2 separate regions of the Homo sapiens genome follow, and region 1 is linked to region 2. The links are contacts of gene promoters, found by promoter capture Hi-C in blood cells and fetal thymus (Javierre and others, 2016). All regions are on one chromosome and are shown on one strand. Each heading gives the region's core, a stretch centred on a gene start or on the middle of the fragment in contact. The rest is flanking DNA. Distances are from core to core; before and after follow the strand shown. Region 1 has its middle 18 kb from the start of MFSD2A. Region 2 holds the start of HPCAL4 (hippocalcin like 4).

Region 1 (5,113 bases), core at 1,053-3,552, 280 kb before region 2:
GGCCAAGGTGAGCAGATCACCTGAGGTCAGGAGTTCAAGACCAGCCTGACCAACATGGAGAAACCCCGTCTCTATTAAAACTACAAAATTAGCCAGGCATGGTGGCGCATGCCTATAATCCCAGCTACTTGGGAGGCTGAGGCAGGAGACTCGTTTGAACCCAGGAGGTGTAGGTTGCAGTGAGCAGAGATCGCTCGCCACTGCCCTCCAGCCTGGGCAACAAGAGCGAAACTCCATCTCAAAAAAAAAAAAAAGAAATGTTGTATAGTAGTAGTGGTGATAGTTTGTAGGCTTGTCCCTGACAGTGGAATTCCTAAGTGTGATTTCTTCCCTATTTATATGAAAATGTTGCAAACAAGTGGCAAATGAATTTTTTTGGCCTCCAAACTTGCTCATGTTTGCTGTGTTTAGAAGTCCTACTCATTGTTTCCCAAGATAGAAATCTAGGCATTGCCGGGCTCCATGGCTCACACCTGTAATCCCAACATTTTGGGAGGCTGAGGAGGAAGGATCGCTTGAGCCCAGGAGTTCGAGACCAGGCTTCGCCACATAGCAAGACCTTATCTCTACAAAAAATCAAAAAATGAGACAGGAGGATCGCTGAAGCTTGGGAGGTGGAGGCTGCAGTGAGCCATGATCGTGCCACTGCACTCCTGCCTGGGCGACAGTGAGATGTTCTCTTAAAAACGAACAAACAAAAAAGAAATATAGGCCAGGTGCAGTGGTTCATGCCTGTAATCCCAGCACTTTGGGAGGCCAAGGCGGGTGGATTACAAGGTCAAGAGATCAAGACCATCTTGGCCAAGATGGTGAAACCTCGTCTCTACTAAAAATACAAAAATTAGCTGAGCGTAGTGGCACTCGCTTGTAATCCCAGCTACTTGGGAGGCTGAGGCAGGAGAATCACTTGAACCCAGGAGGCGGAGGTTGCAGTGGGCCAAGATTGTGCCACTGCACTCCAGCCTGGCGACAGAGTGAGACTCCAGCTCAGAAAAGAAAAGAAAAGAAGAAAAGAAAAAGAAATATAGACATCACTTTCATACTCTCTCCCCCTCTCCCTCTCCATCTCAATTATATCCAGTCCTACCAGCTGCCAAATCAGTCCTTTTCTATCTCCACTGCCTCCACTCGTCTTGTACTCATCAATACCACTCATCCTTGGAACATTACATGAGAAGCCTCTTCATTCGTCTTCCAGCTTCCCTTCTCACCTTCTTCAATTCTTTCTCCTCAGAGCAGCTGATAGGTCTTTCCAAACTCTTCATCTATCATATGGCTTCCCTGCTTAAAATTCTTCAATGGCCTCCCTCTGCTCTTAGGATAAGGACCAAAATGCTTAACACAACCCACGAAGCCATGTTGTGGACCATCTGCCTCTGCCTTCATCCTCAGCCTCATCTTGCATCCCATTCCCTCAATCTTTGTGCTCCAGGCACACTGGCCTTTCTGTTCCTTGACTCCACCATGATCTCCCTGGCCTCTGGGCTTTAGCACATGCTGTTCCTTCTCCCTGAGATACTCTCTTTTTTTCTTTGAAACAGAATTTCACTCTTGTTGCCCAGGCTGGGGTGCAATGGCACGATCTCGGCTCGCCGCAACCTCCGCCTCCCAGGTTCAAGCAATTCTCCTGCCCAAGTAGCTGGGATTACAAGCATGCACCACCACGCCTGGCTAATTTTGTATTTTTTGTAGGATGGAGTTTCACCATGTTGGTCAGGCTGGTCTCGAACTCCTGACCTCAGGTAATCCACCTGCCTCGGCCTCCCAAAGTGCTGGGATTACAGGCTTGAGCAATTGTGCCTGGCCTCATTCACTACACTCTGGCCACACTGGTCTCCTTTCTGTCCTTCCGATATTCCAAGCTCTTTGGGGCCTTGGGGTCTGCGTTGTCTCCTCTACTTGCAATGCTTTCCCTCTAAGCTCTCTTCACATTTAGCTAATTCTCATCCTTCATGAGGATCACTTTCTTTTTCTTTCTTTTTTTAAATTTTTTTAATTTTTTATCTTTAGTAGAGATGAGGTCTCACTCTATTGCCTAGGCTGGTCTCGAACTCCTGAGCTCAAGTGATCCTTCCACCTCAGCCTCCCAAAGTGCTAGGATTACAGGCATGAGCCACTGTGTCCAGCCAAATGTTACTTTCTCAGGACATTCTTTCCTGAGCACTTGACTTAAAGTAGTTCCGTACCAGTTTCCTCCATCACATCACCTCGCTTCTTTCATGATGCTTATTACGATCTGAAATTATTTATTTGTCATTGATCTCCACTGAGAATGTAAGCTCTATTTTGTTCACCACTTTGTCCTCAGAGCCTAGTTGGTGTGTGGCATATAGTAGACTCATTGTAAATATCTGTTCGGATCAATGGAATCGATATTCCAAAACAATGTCAGATCTGGAATTTCCTCTTTGAAACGTGGAGGTGCTGCTCCTTTCTTCCAGCAGGTGGCGCCAAAGCTGCACCTGGTCCTTACCAGAGGTGTGGATGGGCTGTGAGGTTGGCAAGACAGGGCAGCAGGGCCGAGTGAAGAGGGAGAGACAGGGTTTGTTGTAGTAATGCTGGATCCAAGCATAGAGGAAGTCAATATGGCTCTTCTCCCAAGAATAAGTAGGTATGATCTGTCCAGAAGGGACCTAGAGTAGCCAATGACCCAACAGACATTGCTTCCCCTCTTCACCCGTCCCACCCCGAAAGAAGTCCCCAAGAATTCAACAGGGGATCTTGGAAGAGGAGAGCAATTTTCTGTGAGTGTGAAACTGGAGAGAAGCAAGGGTGTTCAAGTGTAAATCCCCTGGCCGGGCGCGGTGGCTCACGCCTGTAATCCCAGCACTTTGGGAGGCCGAGGCGGGCGGATCACGAGGTCAGGAGATCGAGACCATCCTGGCTAACACGGTGAAACCCCGTCTCTACTAAAAATACAATAAATTAGCCGGGCGCGTGGCGGGCGCCTGTAGTCCCAGCTACTCCGGAGGCGGAGGCAGGAGAATGGCGTGAACCCGGGAGGCGGAGCTTGCAGTGAGCCGAGATGGCGCCACTGCACTCCAGCCTGGGCCACAGAGCGAGACTCCGTCTCAAAAAAAAAAAAAAAAAGAAAAAGAAAGAAAAAATGAAAAGTCTAAATCCCCATAGGAAGTTTGGGGAAATTGTGACCTGGAGAGAGGTGTCACAGTGGGTCAGTGGGAGTTGGGTCTGATGCCCAGCCAAAGCCTGCTCTGGTCACAGCTCCCATTCACTCAGCTCCACGTGCCTGCCGCACCCCACCATGCCTGGCCCTCGGCTCAGTGTGGGAGACCACGATGAAAGAGACGATCCCTCTGAGATGTCCCAAAGGCAGAGGGGTAGGGACTGCTTCAGAGGGGCTTGCTGGAGTCAAGACACATTGGATGGGTGTCTGCCAGGTAGAGCTGCAGCAGGAGCTGCAAGACCAGGGTCACGCAGGTGGCCTGCAAAAAGAGCTGCATCTAGATCTGGGCCTGGGGAGGTCAGTAGGGTACTCAGACAGGAACTCACAGAAGGATTTCTAGGAAACTTTTTGTTTTGTTTGAGACAGGGTGTCCCTCTGTTCCCCAGGCTGGAGTGCAGTGGCACAATCATAGGTCACTGCAGCCTCAGATTCCTGGGCTCAAGAGACCCTCCTGCTTCAGCTGCCTGGGTAGCTGGAACTACAAGGTGCAAGCCACCACACCTGGCTAATTGTTTTTTGTTTTATAGAATCGGGGTCTTATTATGTTGCCCAGGCTGGTCTTGAACTCCTGGCCTCGTAATCCTCACACCTCAGCCTCCCCAGTAGCTGGGATTACAGGCAGAGCCACTACACCCAGTTTACAGAAATGTTTCTAAACAGGAGAGCTACTGAGTTATCTTGGATAGTTTGCAGAAAGAAGGTGAGGAGATCAAATTAAAGTCAAGGAGACAAGACAGGATGCTTGTCTATTCACCCAGGTAAGAGAGCATAATGCCTGAGAAGTAATTGTGGGGCTAAGAAAGAAACAAGCTTGAGTGGTTTGGAAAACTTTAATTTTTTTTTTTTTTTTTTTTCAGGCAGAGTCTTGCTCTGTTGCCCAGGCTGGAGTGCAATGGCATGGTCTCAGCTCTTTGCAACCTCCGCCTCCCAGGTTCAAGCCATTCTCCTGCCCTCAGCCTCCCAAGTAGCTGGGATTACAGGCATGTGCTACCACGCCTGGCTAGTTTTGTTTTTGTTTGTTGGTTTTTGGTTTGTTTCTGTTTTGAGACTGGTTCTCTCTGTCCCCCAGGCTGGAGTGCAATGGCGCGATCTCAGCTCACTGCAACTGCTGCCTCCTGGGTTCAAGCGATTCTCCTGCCTCCGCCTCCTGAGTAGCTGAGATTACAGGCATGCACCACCACACCTGGCTAATTTTTGTATTTTTAGTAGAGACGGGGTTTCACCATGTTGGCCAGGCTGGTCTCGAACTCCTGACCTCAGGTGATCTGCCCGCCTCGGCCTCCCAAAGTGCTGGGATTACAGGCGTGAGCCACTGCGCCCAGCTGAAAACTTTAATTTTTTTTTTTTTTTAAAGACAGGACTTGGTGGTTACTGGTTAGAGTGGAGGGAGAGAGGAGGTATAAGTGGGCTTCTATAAACATTATCTCAGAGTCTCTGAGCAGGCCAGCTCCAGAGGCCATAACAGACTCTAGGCTCCTGCCTTGCCCAGACAGCCTGACATGAGATGGCTGATACAAAGACAGTGTGTGACTTGCCTTGGTGTTGACAAAACCATTGGTTCACCTAACAGCCTTAAGTAGTGGTTAAGAGCCCAGGCACTATAGCCAACCTCGATTCAAGTATCAGCTCTTCCAGTGACTGTCCAATGACCTTGAGCAGGTTACTTAACTTTTCCCTGCGTCAGTTTCCTTATCTCTTAACGTGAGGATGACAATAATACCTTCCTCATAGGGAAGTTCTGACAACTATCTGAAGACTAACTGAATTCATACTTATTACACACATGTAACCATGCCTGTTAGTAACGCTTAATGTAATTTATCAAAGTAACCTGGCAGAACTTCATCAGTAAAAATGGTGGACCTCCCTCCCACCCAAAACGGAGCCCCACACTCAAGGTAAGAACCAAGCCAGAATAGCCTAAGAGCC
Region 2 (4,683 bases), core at 1,591-4,090:
AGTTGAGTATGATGAACAGGTGAAGCTGGGTTATGACTGGCAGTTCAGGAATAGTCACATGGCCCCAAGATGATTCATGGGTGAGGCTGCATGGGTAGTCATGCCTGGAGGATAGGATGGCCAGGAGAAGCCACACTCTGGCCCCCTTGCAGTTCAGGAGGGCTGCTGCTTTTTTTTTTTTTTTTTTTTTTTTTTGTGTGTGTGTGTGTATATCACTCTGTTGCCCAGGCTGGAGTGCAGTGGCGTGATCTCAGCTCACCGCAACCTCTGCTTCCTGGGTTCAAGCGATTCTCCTGCCTCAGCCTCCTTATTTTTGTATTTTTGTATTTTGTATTTTTAGTGGAGGCAGGGTTTTGCCATGTTGGCCAGGCTGGTCTCAAACTCCTGACCTCAAGTGATCCACCCGCCTCAGCCTCCCAAAGTGCTAGGATTACAGGCATAAATCCTGGGTGTGAGCCCAGGAGGGCTTCTTGTTTTCACTACTTCTAGTTTACTGTACTGCTGGAATCCCATATCTTGTTCACCTGAGACAGAAGGGCTGCCCAGGAGGCTGGATTTTGCCTTTCTAATACCTTGGGGAATCAGAAACAAATATTCCAATCTAAGGTCCTTACCCTTAAGGACTTGAAGGACCATAAGAAGAGGCAGTATTGTGTACTGATTAGGAGTGTGGGCTCTGAGGCTAGACTGCTGGGGTTCAAATCCCAGCACTGGAGCTCTCTTTACTAGCAATGTGAACTTGGGTCAGTCACTTAACCGCTCTGTGCCTTGATTTCCTCATCTGTTAAGTAGGAGTAATAATAGAACCTGCCTCACAGAGCTCTTATGGGGAATAAATTGAGTAACTTATTCCCAATTTATATTATATGGTAACATATAATATGCTAGAATAGCACCTGACACAAAGTAAGCTCTCGATACACATTAGCTATTGTTAAGGGGCTCAGGACTCTTAAGTGGAGCAGTCAGATTCATGTCCACATACTTCTGTCCAAGGGACAGTCTTTCTTCACCCACCTGGTTGAAAATTTCCCCCTGCTCCTCTGGACCTCTTGAGCCAGCTCCCACATTTCACAGACTGGGAGGCCCAGAATGAGAAGGGTTTTGCCCACGGTCGTAAATGGAATCATTGGCAAAAATGAGACTCAATGTTAGCAATATGAACTTGGGTCAGTCAATGTTAGGGTTTCAGATACCACTTCTAGTAACCTGTGCTGCCTCTCCCCACTTCTTCACGCCTTGGATTATGGTTAACTGTGAGCAAGGGGGGTTCTCGCTCATCTCTGGGTCCCCAAGACCCAGAGCTGAGAAGGTATCAGAGAAGTGAAAGAGTTAGAGCTTCAAACACCTGTCTTTCATGAGTCACCAACCCATAGTGCCAAGGACGCGCCTTCTCCTACAGCTGCAGGTTCCTTGGAGCCCTCAGCCCCCGCTAAGGCCGCAGAGAGAAGGCATAGTCCGCAGCCTCGAAAATGGTAGAGCAAAACCGTTTCAAGGGGCAACGGGACAGGTCCTAAAGAAAAGGGACGTCCACGGGTTCCTCCCCCAGCGAGCCTGGCCCAGGCATTTCTGGGACCAGCTCCAGAAGCCTCGCCCCCACTCGCGGCAGGTCTGACCCCATCCTCCATCGCCCCGCCCAGCCCACCTCTACCTTCGCCGCGCGGACAGAAGCCCCGCCTCTCACCGCTGCTCTTCAGCGTCCGCGCTCCGATTAGGCCAATCCCCAGCCGTCCGCCCCGACTTTCGACAGATCCTTAGAAGTCCCTGCCCCGCACGTGGCCCAGCCCGGGGATGTCTGGCTCCCCTTTTGCCCCCAGTTTGGCTTAAAAGGGTTCCTTCCCACAGCCTTGTGTCAGGAGCTCTCAGACGCCAGTGCAGCCCAGGCGGCCGGCCCGGGCTGTGGGGAGACCCCCAAGTGCGGGGAGGAGGTGTTGCCGGGGCCCTGAAAGCTTCCAGACCCGCTCAGTGTAAACCGCCTCGGGTTTGTGTCAACATCCGAGGCCGGAGACTGGCGGCGGCTGGGGACCGGCTCCGTCTGCGGGACGGGAAAACGGGAGGGTGGGGAATGGAGGATCCATGGCTAGGCATAGGGGTCCTTCGGGGGAGAACGCGAGAGGCCTCTTGGGGGTCCATGAGAAAGGAGGAGGGCCCGTCTGGGGAGGGACCGGAATGAAGGGCCAGAGGGGTGGCTGGAGGGAACCCACGACTAGCGCGGGGCTAGGTAGAGGCTGGGACTTCGCCACCCATACCGCGCTCTCCGCGCGCAACCAGCACCCTCCTCTCTGCCCCACGGCGTGAGGGGAGTGGATGCGTGGGGAGGGGGGACGCAGAGATGTGGACTGCTGACCAGCCACCTCCTCCCTCTCCCACCCAGCTCCTCCCCAGCTCCTCTTTGGCCCCTCCCAATTTCGGGTGGGATATGGGTGTGGGGGGGGGTCTCATCTTGTGACTCATCCCCTCTTCCGCCCCCACCCATGCTGGGGCCCAGGAAAGGAAGCTTAGAGATTCGGCTGTGGTTCTCCCGTTTCCATAGCAACGGTGAGGTTGTTTTTGAGAATCCACTTTCATCGTCGACCCTTTCCACCCCAGACTTGTAAGCCGGGGGCTGAGCCTCAGGGCAGGGGTGCAGATGGGGGTGCAGCCCTCCCGCTTCCCGGCGACTCCGGGAAGGTCAGCGCGGGCAGGCGGGGCGCGCTCCTGCGGCCGGGCCTCGCCGGCCACCCGGTCCCCACCTGAAACCCCGCCTGCCACTCCGCTCCAGAGGAGCCAATAGCCGTGCAACCTGCCCGGGATGGGGCGGGGCTTATGCAAATAGTGTCGCCTTCGGGAGGCACATAGTGATACAAGAGCTGGAAGGCGGCTCCGGCGCAGACCTTGGAGAGCACAGCTGCCGGCCCGCGAGCCAGCCTCGGTTCCCGCGGCCCGCCGAGGCTCGGAGCCATCCAGCGACCCGGCGACCGGCCTCAGGTAATGCGAGTGGGACCGGGTCCTCAAGGCAACAAACCCACCGGGCGGAGGCCCTGGCCCCCTCCCCCTCCACTCTCCCTTCCCATCCTCATGTCCTGCCCTGATTCACCTCCCTGACCCGTGGTTCCGCCTTAGGCGGCAGCAACTGAAGAGCCCACCCCTGGGCAGGAGACCCCCCACCTCAGTCCAGGCCCATGGGTGCAGAGAAGGAGGCAGAGCCGCCTACTTATCCCCAGCTCAGGTGAGAACAACCATTGCTATGGCCCCCAACATACACGCGCGCAAACACACATACACACACAGATGCACACACACACATCTGGGGGTGTGGTGGCGCTGGTGCTAGCTGGAGGCGCTGGTCACCCTCCCTCCTGTTTGGATATGGGTTGTCTGCCCAGCACCATGGCAAACTCCCACCTCCACGGATAGCCCCTAGCCACTTCTCATCAGGGAGCCCCTGCCCCCAAAGACAGCCTCCCCCTCCACAGAGCGCTCCCTCCTTGTTGTCCCCAGACACTGTCCCCACATCCCACCCCTCAAGCTGACAGAGCCCACAGCATACCTGAGGGGGGGACAATCCCCCTTCCCCAGTTTTTCTCCTCACAGTCTCGACAGCCCTCCCCAGTGGCCCCCAGTGCTAGGCAGAGGCCCCATATTTGGCATCTCTCATCCTGGCGGGAGGATGAACCAAAGACACCACCCCCAGCAGACCACCCATACCGTCAGTCCAGTTGCTGCCAAGGCCCCAACCTCCATACCTCCTCCCTCCCCCCTCACAGCCAGGCACCAAATCCTCTCATTCTGCCTGTCAAATGTCTTTCTAATTTGTATGACTATTTGCTCCCTCTCTCCCACCTTCCTGCTGCTCCGTGGGGACCTTGCCAAGGTGCCATGTGGGCTGTATTGCTCTTGGCCCTAAAGTGAACTATACCTGGAGGGCAGATGAGCTGGGTTCAAATCTTGTACAGCCAAAGTTTGACTTTGGCCAAGTCACTCCCCTCTCTGATCCTTCATGAAAATGGGGAGAGGTATAACAGAGAGGGTAGACTGGGTGAGATGAACTTGAACAGCCTTCTGGCACTGAGACACTCTGGTTCTATGGCTGATTATGGAAAAACAGGATCCTGAACCAAGAGGACATTAAAGAGAGGAGACCTGAGGGGGGCGGGGTTGGTTTAGAACTCACTGAAGACACATTCCTTCTTAACCAGCCTAGGTACAGGCTACCTCCTCCCACACATTCTCCAGGCCCCTTCTATTAGGAGTCCCTCCTAGACCACCAGCCCATCCTGACATGGACAGCTCCAAATTGTAGGTGGCCAGCTGGGATTACTCTTTGTTTGTCATCCCCTGCCTCTCATTAAGAAGAAGAGGGAAAAGACCTGGTTGCTGCTGCTATTGCTGCTGCTTGGGGAAGAGCAAAGGGAGGAGAGGAAAGAGAGAAAAAATCTCCTGACCAGGGAGCTATTGTCACCATGGCAACCACCTCAGTACCAGCTCCTCTGAAGCTGGGTGAGGGTGTGGGATTATTGCCTCCTTCAGTCCCTCCCATTCAAAGCCTCAGCCACCTCTCCATTCAAAGCCCACAGCCCTTAGCCCTCTTGAAGAAACCTCTGGGCACACTGGGACAATGGTTTTGTGTATGGGACAGTCCCAGCTCCTTCATAGCTGGAGGACAGCCCTCAAGAGGTAAGCAGAGGAGCCTGCCCATGTTCA

What was found. Contacts are between HindIII fragments. The CHiCAGO score rates a contact against its expected background, and 5 or more counts as called.
Region 1: a contact is called between a fragment that was not itself captured here and the fragment with the promoter of HPCAL4 in region 2, in 1 of 17 cell types (megakaryocytes). The highest score is 5.1, in megakaryocytes.

Annotation. Positions count from the first base shown.
Region 1 is chr1:39,971,023-39,976,135 of GRCh38, reverse strand. No RefSeq gene overlaps it. Among named protein-coding and RNA genes, the nearest start is that of MFSD2A, 18 kb to the right of the region's middle. The HindIII fragment of the contact is 3,388 bases long and covers 609-3,996 here.
Region 2 is chr1:39,689,590-39,694,272 of GRCh38, reverse strand. It overlaps HPCAL4 (hippocalcin like 4), which reads left to right and starts at 2,840. Exons shown (of 4, transcript NM_016257.4): 1 at 2,840-2,967. RefSeq lists an enhancer at 1,871-2,461 and silencers at 2,534-2,763, 2,984-3,063, 4,338-4,564. The HindIII fragment of the contact is 11,293 bases long and covers 2,500-4,683 here.